Linked DNA regions of Homo sapiens: region 2 is linked to region 1. The links are contacts of gene promoters, found by promoter capture Hi-C in blood cells and fetal thymus (Javierre and others, 2016). All regions are on one chromosome and are shown on one strand. The core of a region is centred on a gene start or on the middle of the fragment in contact, and the rest is flanking DNA. Distances in the headings are between cores, read along the strand shown. Region 1 holds the start of GPX8 (glutathione peroxidase 8 (putative)). Region 2 has its middle 100 kb from the start of LINC02998.

Evidence for each region. The method cuts DNA at HindIII sites, captures the fragments that hold promoters and counts their contacts. A CHiCAGO score of 5 or more calls a contact.
Region 2: a fragment that was not itself captured here is called in contact with the fragment with the promoter of GPX8 in region 1 in 3 of 17 cell types (total CD4 T cells, naive CD8 T cells and naive CD4 T cells); the score reaches 6.2 in total CD4 T cells.

Annotation. Positions count from the first base shown.
Region 1 is chr5:55,156,626-55,161,612 of GRCh38, reverse strand. It overlaps GPX8 (glutathione peroxidase 8 (putative)), which reads right to left and starts at 1,442. Exons shown (of 3, transcript NM_001008397.4): 1 at 1,217-1,442; 2 at 358-619. The coding sequence starts at 1,420. The region is part of intron 2 of CDC20B (cell division cycle 20B); the gene reads left to right. The HindIII fragment of the contact is 5,226 bases long and covers 255-4,987 here.
Region 2 is chr5:54,841,279-54,847,067 of GRCh38, reverse strand. It overlaps the pseudogene CSPG4BP. Among named protein-coding and RNA genes, the nearest start is that of LINC02998, 100 kb to the right of the region's middle. The HindIII fragment of the contact is 9,684 bases long and covers 1-5,789 here.

The sequences.
Region 1 (4,987 bases), core at 193-2,692:
GTGTGGCTATAATGACGGGAAGGGACATTTCTCCAGATGCTAGTTACAAGAGAGGAGAATTAAGATATTTTGTGAAAATAGCCATGGGCACACTTTAAGTAAATTCTTCAGGAAGATGGTAATAAGGAATAAAATATATTGGAATAGAATTCTTTTACCATCTAAGAAGCTAAAACATTGATTTCAGGGGAGCATAACTCCTAGAAGTTACAAAGGATGAGATTCTGGCTCTTTGATGATAGTTTTATGAAGCTTTCCCGATACAACGTTTCAAATGAAATAGGAAAGTATTGTCCTGGTATAATTGTTTAAAAATGAAAAGCAATTTAAAACAGCATATGCAAGGCAGATATTTACCAACAAGAAATCTAAATGCAGGTTCTCCTTCAGATCCTAGAATCTTAATCTTGTGGAAGATGGGGAAAGTTACTCCGTAGTTTTTTCTTGCAAAAGATTCTACTTCCTTGCTTGGGCGGGGCTCCGATTCTCCAAACTGATTGCAGGGAAAAGCCAACACGCTGAAGTGGGATGGTCCAAACTCTTTGTGCAGTTCCTTCAGCCCTAAGTAATTTCTGTCTGTGAGTTGGCAGTCACTGGCCACGTTTACAACTAGTGAAACCTCCCGGAAAAAGAAAAAAATCCAACCGGAAAGTGAAGCAAAAGATTTTAAAAAATTCTGCAAGTAGTTAAAATCCTAAACAATTTGGGGGGGACTATAACCTCTGATTGATGTTTTTTTCATATTTTTGGACATACACAGTTCTATTGAAAACTGTAACCTAGATGCCTGGGTTAAGGCCCTGAAATAGTACTGCCATTAAAAAAGCATTAGATACTCATGAAAGTTTATTTTTAAATTAAAGATAAAACTATGATCCTTGATAAGTTCTTTTTAAAGTTATTAGATTATAGAACCAATACTTTTATTAATAAATGTCATCATGTTCACATTACTAACTATAAGTATTTTCCAAACAACTTTACATGTCAATTCAGCACAAAATTAAAGCATTTTAAAGAAAACGAGATAATCGGAATTTATTATTTAGAAGCAAACTATCAGAACTGTAATAACTAAAGTGATGTACTAATACCATTACTCTGAAGACTAAATTCCAACTTATGACCATGTAACAGCAAAAAATTGATTTTATTAAGAGGAATAAACAGAGACAAGGAAAAATGATAACAATAAAAATCAGATGATGCAACTTACTTTGCCTTTATACTTTTCCAGAGAAACAGTTCTTCCTTTTGCATCCTTCACTTCAAAGGCATAAAAGCTGTTGATTTTAGGTTTGAGGAATTTTAGTTGTAGAAGAAATAGCGTTACTGTGCATAGAACTATAGACAGCAAAACTGCAAATACCTTTGCTCTGGGCCCGGAACATTTTAGCGGGTAAGCTGCAAGAGGCTCCATGTTGGAGGATTCTAGAGGGAAGTCTCAGCAGCCTGGAATTCAAGGAGGAGCTGAAACTTGAAACCGGCTTAGTTTAACGGAAAACCAGGAAGGACAGGCTGACTGCTTTCACTGCTAAGGAACAGAAAGACCACTTCTCAGAGGGGAAATGAAGCGAAACTCCTGAATGAAGCAAGGAGCTCTACAGAATTTCAAAGTATTTGTGATGTAATTATAATTTTTGCTAGAAAAATCAGGACATTTTTGGTAGGTCTTTGACATTCTCCCTACAAAGAAAATATTTCGCCAGAAGATGGTGCTCTTGTAACTCGAAAGCTACGGAGGGCTCATTCCCCATGCTAAGCTGTGTATTTATTGAGCAACTGTTTGGATGCAGAGGATGGAGTACGATGCTCAGCAATAGTTTAGAATGTAGATTAAATGTGACCTACTCATATGGTGTATACCCTGAAGGACGTTACTATTACATGTATGGGTTAAACATGCTATATGAGTTCAGGAAATTTATAGTGGAAAGAGCAGGGAAATATCTGAAAAAGGCTATTTACCCTGATTCATCTAGCTAAGGCAATCAAATACCAAGTGAATACAGTCAAAATAAATATGTTAAAAACAGTGAAGGTGTTAAAAGAAACCCTTCTCTATCATAGAGCAAACTATAGTCCAGTGTTTTTCAAATTTCTACTCATGACCCCCAGTCAGCAGTGCACTTTACAACATAACTGGGTACAAACAACACACAACTGAGAAACAACACTTCTCCTTTGAACTGTGATGCACCCCCACCTGTTGCATTTTTAAACAACCCAGTTCTGACCTATCAAAATGATTTCATCATTCACCGATGCACTACAACCTGTAGATGGAAAAAACTGAGGCCGGGCATGGTGGCTCACGCCTGTAATCCCAGCACTTTGGGAGGCCTAGATGGGAGGATCACTTGAGCCCATGAGTTCAAGACCAACTTGGGCAAGAAAGCGATACCCCTGTCTCTAAAAAAGAATTTTAATTAGCTGGTTGTGGTGGTGCATGGCTGTGGTCCCAGTTATACAGGTGGCAAAGGTGGGAGGATCGCTTGATCCCAGGAGGTTGAGGCTGCAGTGAGTCGTGTTTGTAGACTGCAGCCTGGGTGACAGAGTGAGACTATCTTAAAATCAGAACAAAAGAAGAAGAGGGAAAAAAGCAAAAATTGAACTCGATAATAAAGTAGTAATTTAACAGTTAAATAAGGCAATTCTACCAAAAAAAATCCCTGAAAACAAACAAACCCTGCAAAACCCACCTCTACTTGGGCACGTCATCTAATTGCTTCGTTTTTTCTCTTTATTTCCCTCCCCTGGCTGTTGCCTGGCACAGGGGGCCTAACTTTGCTGTTGCTAACGGTCATGAATTTTAGGGGTAGGTATGGGGAGGCAATTGAGGGCTGTATATCCTAAAAGCCATTCACTTTCAATTCTGCTCTGTTTAAGACTCATGGCAAGATCTGGATGAAGGGGCATTATGCCATTTGATCATGATGTGTTTCCAGAAAGTGCAGGGAATGAGCTGAGATGTTTGTGGAGTGCCCTTCCTGTCACTGTTAGCTTGTGGAGCTTCAGAGAGGGTGCTCAGGGTGCTGCCTGCTCTTCTGGTTCCCGCTCTGTGGCATGTGTGTTTTCGGGTGGCTGAGCAAAGCCCATAGCCTACTGTGTAAAACTTGTGAGAGGAACCGCTCGACTCCTACTCTCATGGCTCAGTAAGAATGGATACAGTAGAAAAAGCAATGATTATGCAGAAAGTATTCCCTTTTAAACATAATTCCTAGTAAAGAACAAAAATGTATGTAAGATGTGTTGTATCACTTCCTGATAATTTTACTTTGGTGTTCTCTGGCTGAATTGTTTAAAAAGTCAAAGTCCCTGTGTTTATATGACATGAACACTGCTATGTTGCTTAAGCTCTCTGGCCTTGCTCTCTAAGTGGGATCTGGGACCTTCCACAGTACCATCACCTGGGCATTTGTTAGAAACACAGCATTTTGGGCCCCACCCCAGACTTCCCGAGTCAGAATCTGTACTTTTACAGGATCTCCTCATGACACATACACACGTTTAAGTTTGAGAACCTTTAGACCTCAAACTTTTTTTGGTTTCAGAGCAACAAGAGTCTTTGGTTTGTCTTTGTTTTCCATAGTGGATGTGTTCATGTCTCTATGAATACACGAGATATTTTAACTCCTCAGGCTGTACAAGCAAATGGCTTAGGAACATGCATTTTAAAATTAATTCATAGAATACCTGCTGTAATTTGAGCCGTGTAAACCCAAGTCATTATAACTGTGTTTTGAGGTGGAAAGAGAGTGATTTATCTTTGGCAGGGATGTTGACTGACCACCGCTTAGGCAGGGCCCCCTAGGGTGATATTATTTTGATAAAATCACTGTGATAGTTTCTAGTCCATTGTATTATAAGTACAGAAACTCTTATCAAGTGATCCAGAGATGAATGGATTTGAAAATGCCAAAATTATGCTGTTACAAACTTGCTTGTGATTGCTGAATAAGCCAGTTTTTACACCAGAAATAAAACATTATGCAGGCCTGATGTTGAGGTTGGTTTCACCACAAAATTCCATATTATATGAATACAACTTTGAAAACTTACGTGTATATCTCCTGTCAAGGATGAAATCAGAGCCAGTTTGTTAATTTAATGTTCCTAAGGCTTAAGAGCTTCAAATAATGAAGGCATGATATATAAATTTTCATACTGACCCATTAACCAAACATTCAGACAGCACTTTGGAGAACTTGTGCGCTGGACAGCATTGGATGAACACAGATTTTGGCCCTGTCACACCTCTTCTTTGTTGTTTTGGCAGTCTTTCTCTGCACACATTTTGATGTCATCATCTCTCAGCCTTCTGGGGATCCACCATTATTGTTTTCATGTTCTGTCTATACTAACTCTATTCTCAGACTATACATATATCAAAATGGCACATTTCTCTGCATAAGGGGTAGTATGTTAGAAAAACCACCAGCGCTCTTTCAGTAAATGAAGGAAGGCTTCTATAGGAGGAGAAGAGATTGATGAGTTCATGATGAAGGCAAGAGGAAGCTACTGGGTCAAGAAGGGCATAAAGTAGTTGACTCAGTTATCAACCAACTCAAGCACTGGAAAGGATACAAATAAGGTGCAAGGGAAGGAGCCAGCCTCATGCAACTGTAAAAGCAATTTTGGAAATATGAGAACACACAAGAAACGGAAGGATTACAAGGCAGTAAATAACTGAGTGCTAAATAAATGACTTATTTTTTTATTTATTATTATTATTTTTTGAGACAGAATCTCACTCTGTCGGCTAGACTGGAGTGCAGTGGTGCAACCTCGGCTCACTGCAACCTCCATCTCTTGGGTTTGAGTGATTCTCCGGCCTCAGCCTCCCGAGTAGCTGGGACTACAGGCACGCGCCAAAATGCCCGGCTAATTTTTGTATTTTTAGTAGTGATGGGGTTTCACCATATTAGTCAGGCTGGTCATGAACTCCTGATCTCGTGAGCTGCCCGCCTCGGCCTCACAAAGTGCT
Region 2 (5,789 bases), core at 63-2,562, 310 kb after region 1:
CTATCATTGTTGGACATTTGGGTTGGTTCCAAGTCTTTGCTATTGTGAATAGTGCCGCAATAAACATACGTGCGCATGTGTCTTTATAGCAGCAAGATTTATAGTCCTTTGGATATATACCCAGTAATGGGATGGCTGGGTCAAATGGTATTTCTAGTTCTAGATCCTTGAGGAATGCTCACCATCACTGGCCATCAGAGAAATGCAAATCAAAACCACAATGAGATACCATCTCACACCAGTTAGAATGGCGATCATTAAAAAGTCAGGAAACAACAGGTGCTGGAGAGGATGTGGAGAAATAGGAACACTTTTACACTGTTGGTGGGACTGTAAACTAGTTCAACCATTGTGGAAGTCAGTGTGGCGATTCCTTAAAACATCCTTTTAATATCTGCCCCTCATTTTTTATTGGAGTGTGGTATCTCTTTTATCCACTAGAATGTGTAATAACAATGGCAAATGAGCATAGAAACTTTCTGGAAAGACTGTGTGTATTGATCAATTGCAGAGTGTTCTCATAAATTGATAACCTTTAACATTATTAAATAATTTTCACACATCAGGTGTGTTTACTTTTTTGTGAAAGCTAATAGATATAGCATATGCATTTTATCAACATAGTAGAGCCACGAGAATGCAGTTTTCAATAACATAGTTTCTCCAAAGCTATGGTTACCAGTTACTTCTTTCCAGGCAAAGTTTTAAACTTAGGAGATTATTTCAGATGATGATGTTTCTTATTTCTATATTTCAGAGCATATCAAACAGTAATAATAACAACCATTTACATGGTCCATTACATGGTCCTAATGATAGTTATTACTTACATAGTACTTACAGTGCCTGGCATTGTTCTATGCGCTTTACATTTACCCAGTGAATCTTCAACAACTCTCTGGGATATGATTTTTATTTTAAAGATGAGAAATCTGCAATGCAGAGAGGCTTTGACACTTCTCCAAGGTCCAAAGCAGAAGGGCTGCTGGTGGACAGCAAGTGGCAGAGCTAGAATGCGAGTTTGAGTTTGGCACCACAGTGTTCTCTCACTTCTTCCTTCATAGTTAGCGAAGAAGCTCAAGGACCTGGTGAAGCAGATAAAGAGAGTATTGCTCTTATTCCAATTTTAAGAAGGTGGAATTAAAGATCAAGAGGTTAAGCGATTTGCCCAAAATAACAAAGTTAGTGGCAGAGTCTGGGGCAAAGGCAGTTATGCAAATGCAAATGTGATAAAGTCTTCAGATTCAGTGCTGTTTCTGACTTTTCAAACAGCATGTTCTCAAGACATTCGGATTATCCTGCATGATGACTCACTCTCCCTACTTGTCATCTGGGCCTGGAGGAGGTGGCAAGAAAGTCTGTCTGCAGCCTAAGTGGGAGAAGAAGGTGGGAGCGTGGGGGATAGAGTTGCTGATAACATCTCAGACTCTGGAGGGAGTTCATAGCCAGCAATCAGAATGTTAACCTCTGTGTCCCACCATTTAAAACACACTTCTTTCTCCTGACAAATTAAAACATTTCCTTAAGCCACAGTTCTTTCAGCTGATCTCCAAGGTCATTCAATGGTACAAGAGATCATTTGTGTCCCAACAAACTGGAATTGGGAATTGGAGTTAGGCCATCTTGGGTGAATCCTTTGCATTTTACTTTGAAATATATTCTACTGAGTATTTTTGTATTCAAATATGATCAGTGAATTTTGTGCATATCTGATAAAACATATTTTTGTCCACAAGGGGGCTTCATTTTCCTATTTTTCAAGTTCCTCTTTCAGTAATACTATACATTTTGTTTTGTTGTTTTTATACTGAAAATAGAACCATTTGCTTGCTTTTGAGAAATACTTGTCATCACTAAAAGGAGCTTTGAGAGCTGGTCACAGTAGAAGAATTAAGGCAGCAAAGTTTGAAATGCCAATTGAAGCTCTCGGGGGACCAACAGTGGGAGAGTGAATTCATGAGCATTTCACATCCCTCGTATGAAACGCAACAAAGGTCTAGGCTTTGTTGTTTTTGTTTGTTTGTTTGTTTGTTTGTTTTTGAGACGAAGTCTTGCTCTGTCACCCAGGCTGAAGTGCAGTGGCACGATCTCGGCTCACTGCAACCTCTGCCTCCAAAGGTCTGGGCTTTTAAATATTAAGTTTACAACTAGGATTAAATGGGATCACAATTAGGTTTCTAAATACCACTAAACTCTTCTTAAAGCTAAAGGTCAATTTAAAAATTATTATTCCAGGTTTGTGTTATTTTCTGATATTTATGCTTTGAACTATTCTTTTTTGGGCTTTGGATCACTTTAAAATCTGAATTCAAATTGGGGGTCTTTGTTTTCCTTCTCCTCATCTGCCTGAAGTTTCCATTACCAAGCACTGGGCACTAAATCAGGCCTTACCTGAAGCAATGGGGTCGTTAATTGAACTAAATTTGGTTTGAGTGGAAATGAGACCTGAGGCTACTAGATCTTGTTTTGAGTGGCAGGTTTTCCATTTGTTTTGGAAGATGGTATATTTCAGAGGCGAGAGGGAGGGAAAGCAGTGTTCCATAGCAGAGTAGCTGCAGTGGAAAACATGCTTTGTCCAGCCTTGGTGTGTATGGCCTTGGAAAAAATGATTGTTTCTACAAGTCACGAGAAGAGAAATGGCAGCACATTTCCAAGTCAGCTGGAGCTCTAGAAGAAATGAGGATGAGATATGTGGATGGATTAAAAAATGTAAAAAGTGAAAAACCAGAATGAGTGGGCTTGGAATTTTGTTAAACAGTCCAACTTGCGCATTTTATTATAGCCTTTCTGTGGGTTTAAATGAAGGCCAAAACCTTATTATTTGAACGTTGTATTGATTCGCATTTCTGGTAGCTATTTAAAAGCTGATGTCCTTAGAGCTTAGTGCTGCAAAATCTTCAGTAGGCATATTCAAATGGCAAGATATAGGCATGTCCATCAACAACACAATTATTAAACAGATAAACTATTCACCCCAAGTTATGAAAGAATGCTGGAAGATTAAACAAAATCTGCAGTACATGTTATAGAATAGCCTCAATAATGGCAATAATCACACTCTAAGTGACTTTTTGGAAATACTAAAAAGTCACATCTGTCCTCAAAGCCAAATCTGATGAAGAAGATGGGTCATATAAAGCTAATATTTATTGAATGCTTACTATGTGCCTGATGAAACAGTTCTAAACACTTTTCATATATTAAGTCACTCAGTCTGTGCAACAGCTCTATCATTTCTAGTTTACTGATGAGGAAATTAAGGCAGAGAGAGGTTAAGAAATGTGCCCAAGGTTATATAGCTAGTAAGCAACAAAGCAGTGACCCAAACCCAGGTGGTTTAACTGGACAGAAACTAAATCAAGCATTCTTGAACAACCTGAAAATATTTAAAAGAATTTCAAGTAGTGCTATTGTTATTGGCACATGTTATTTTTCAACATAACTACTTTGAGGAGTTAAACATTGGTTTGGCAGTGTAAGTTCGTGTGTGTGTGCATGCGCATGTGTATATATGTGGAGTATGTGGGTATTTATTTATGTATAATTACTTTATGGTCTCATCTGTTAACTTTTAAGAAATTAAAGGATAATTCACAAAGTAGTTTTTTTTCCTGTGTTATCAGTAGTTGGTGTATTAGAAGGAAGCAGAATGGATTATCTTCCAGCCCCATTATGCCTGACATGAAAACATAGGAATCTTATATACTTTCTGAGTTTCCTGTCTCAAGTTCTGTTTAGTTATTAGATGATGCCATCCATCATCTAATTGGAGTAAGTTATTTCACAAACTGCTCTTTCTACTGAGGGAAATGGTTCTCTTTAACTGGAGAGATCATCTATTAAGTCATTTAGGACTGAATTTTTAAACAAGTTATGAAAAAGCGTAGAAGATGATAAAGTTCTTATGCATGGGTATGTGCACATGGTGTTTCTGTGGGTAAGAAAAATACATATAAATACAAATACAGATATAAATGTGAAATTTGAGTTAGTGACAAAACTACTTGTCTTTAGTGTTAGTGAAGTATCCTGTGGCTGCATGATTAGAGAAACTCAAAACAGCCAAATTCCATCAAATGTGATTCAGTGTCCATATAAACATTTTAAACCCATGTTCAAAACTGAACTCCTGATCTTACTCCCCAAATCTACTCTACATTCAGCTTTCCTTATCTCAACTGATGGTAACCCTGTCCTCGTTTCTGAGGCCCAAACCATAGAGTCATTCTCACCGCCTTTCCTTCTTTCACACCTCGCCAAATTGAAATAGCCAGAAGCTCGGCTGGTTTTGTCTTCAACAGACACCCAGAATTTGGCCACTTCCCACCACCTCTGCAACTTCTGGGGCCACTCTCTTCTGTCATCCTTCTCTGGAATTATTGTAGTCACCTCCTAACTGGTCTCTCTGCCTCTACCTTGTACCTCCCAGAGTCTATTCCTGATACAGAAGCCAAAGGATTCTGTGAAAACATGAGTCTGACCAGGTCACTCCTCACCTAAAACTCTGCAATGATCCATCATTGCACTCAAGGAAGAACCAGAGTTTTTACAGTAGCGTTCAAGACCCCGAACAATATGACAACCTTCATTATGTTTCAACTCATCTCCTTTTACTCTTCATCTTGCTTATTCTGCTCCTTCCAACTGACCGATTTCCTAGTCTCCCAACAGATGAGGCCTGCCTTTGGGCTGTTTCCTCTGCCTGTATGGTCCTCCCCTAGATATTTACATATTCACTGGCTCCCTCTTCACCTCCTTCCAGTCTTTCCTCAAACTGAACCTCATACTTAACATTTGCTCACTCCTGAGGCCCCCCTTATCTTGCTTTATTTTTTCTTTTTTTTCATAGTGCTGTGACTTTTTTTTGACACATTGTTTAATTCATTTCTTTATTATGCCATTGTTTCTTCTCTGTGTCCCTTTGTCCCTTCCTGCTGGAATGGAGGCTCCTGAGAACAGGACTCTTTTTTTGGTTACGGATGTATAGCAAACACCCAGAACATTGTCTGGAAGATAGTAAATGCTCAATAAATGCTTGATGAATCGTTAAATTAAGATGTTTAGGCAATGTAAATAGATTTTAAATGTAATTGGAAAATAGGAACTAGTACTCAGATACAATTGTAGATGTGTGCTATCAGCACAGCAAACATTGCAAGGCCATAAGAACAAGATATTTGTGTTCTTGCAAGACAGGTAGGACAAATAGGATAGAAAAATATGCAGTGTGTGTGTGTTTTTTTTCCCTCAACCATTTAAAAGCTAGTGAAATAATTTGCGTCTTACAGCAATGAATGGAAATCCTTAAATCAATCCTATGAGATAGGTTCTGAATTATCTGAGACCCCATGTAGAGTATCCAGCATGTGCCATGCACACAAAAGGTGCTTAGTCATCATCAATTTTTGGTGTTTTTCTACATTATACAAATGTACATGCACTTCACATAATGAAATTGGATTAATTATGAATCCTATTTCTTTATTGAAACCTCATAAACCTCATAAATTAACTAAACACTACTTCAGGCTTTGTATTTCACCTGACATTTAATTATACATCTGTTTCAAATGAAGAAACTTCATGCTTTAAAAACTCTGGTGAATTGCTTTGGATTTTAAATCTTTGTCCAAGGAGACAGGACGTCATTGCTATCCAGTTTACTAATGTGATGTGATTGACATTGGTCCTCAAAAGATCTGTGATTCTCTTCTTTTTAAGGTGTTGATGAATTCTTTCACTGAGATGACCAGTGGTGACCTCTGTGCAGAAGATGGGGACTCCTCTCC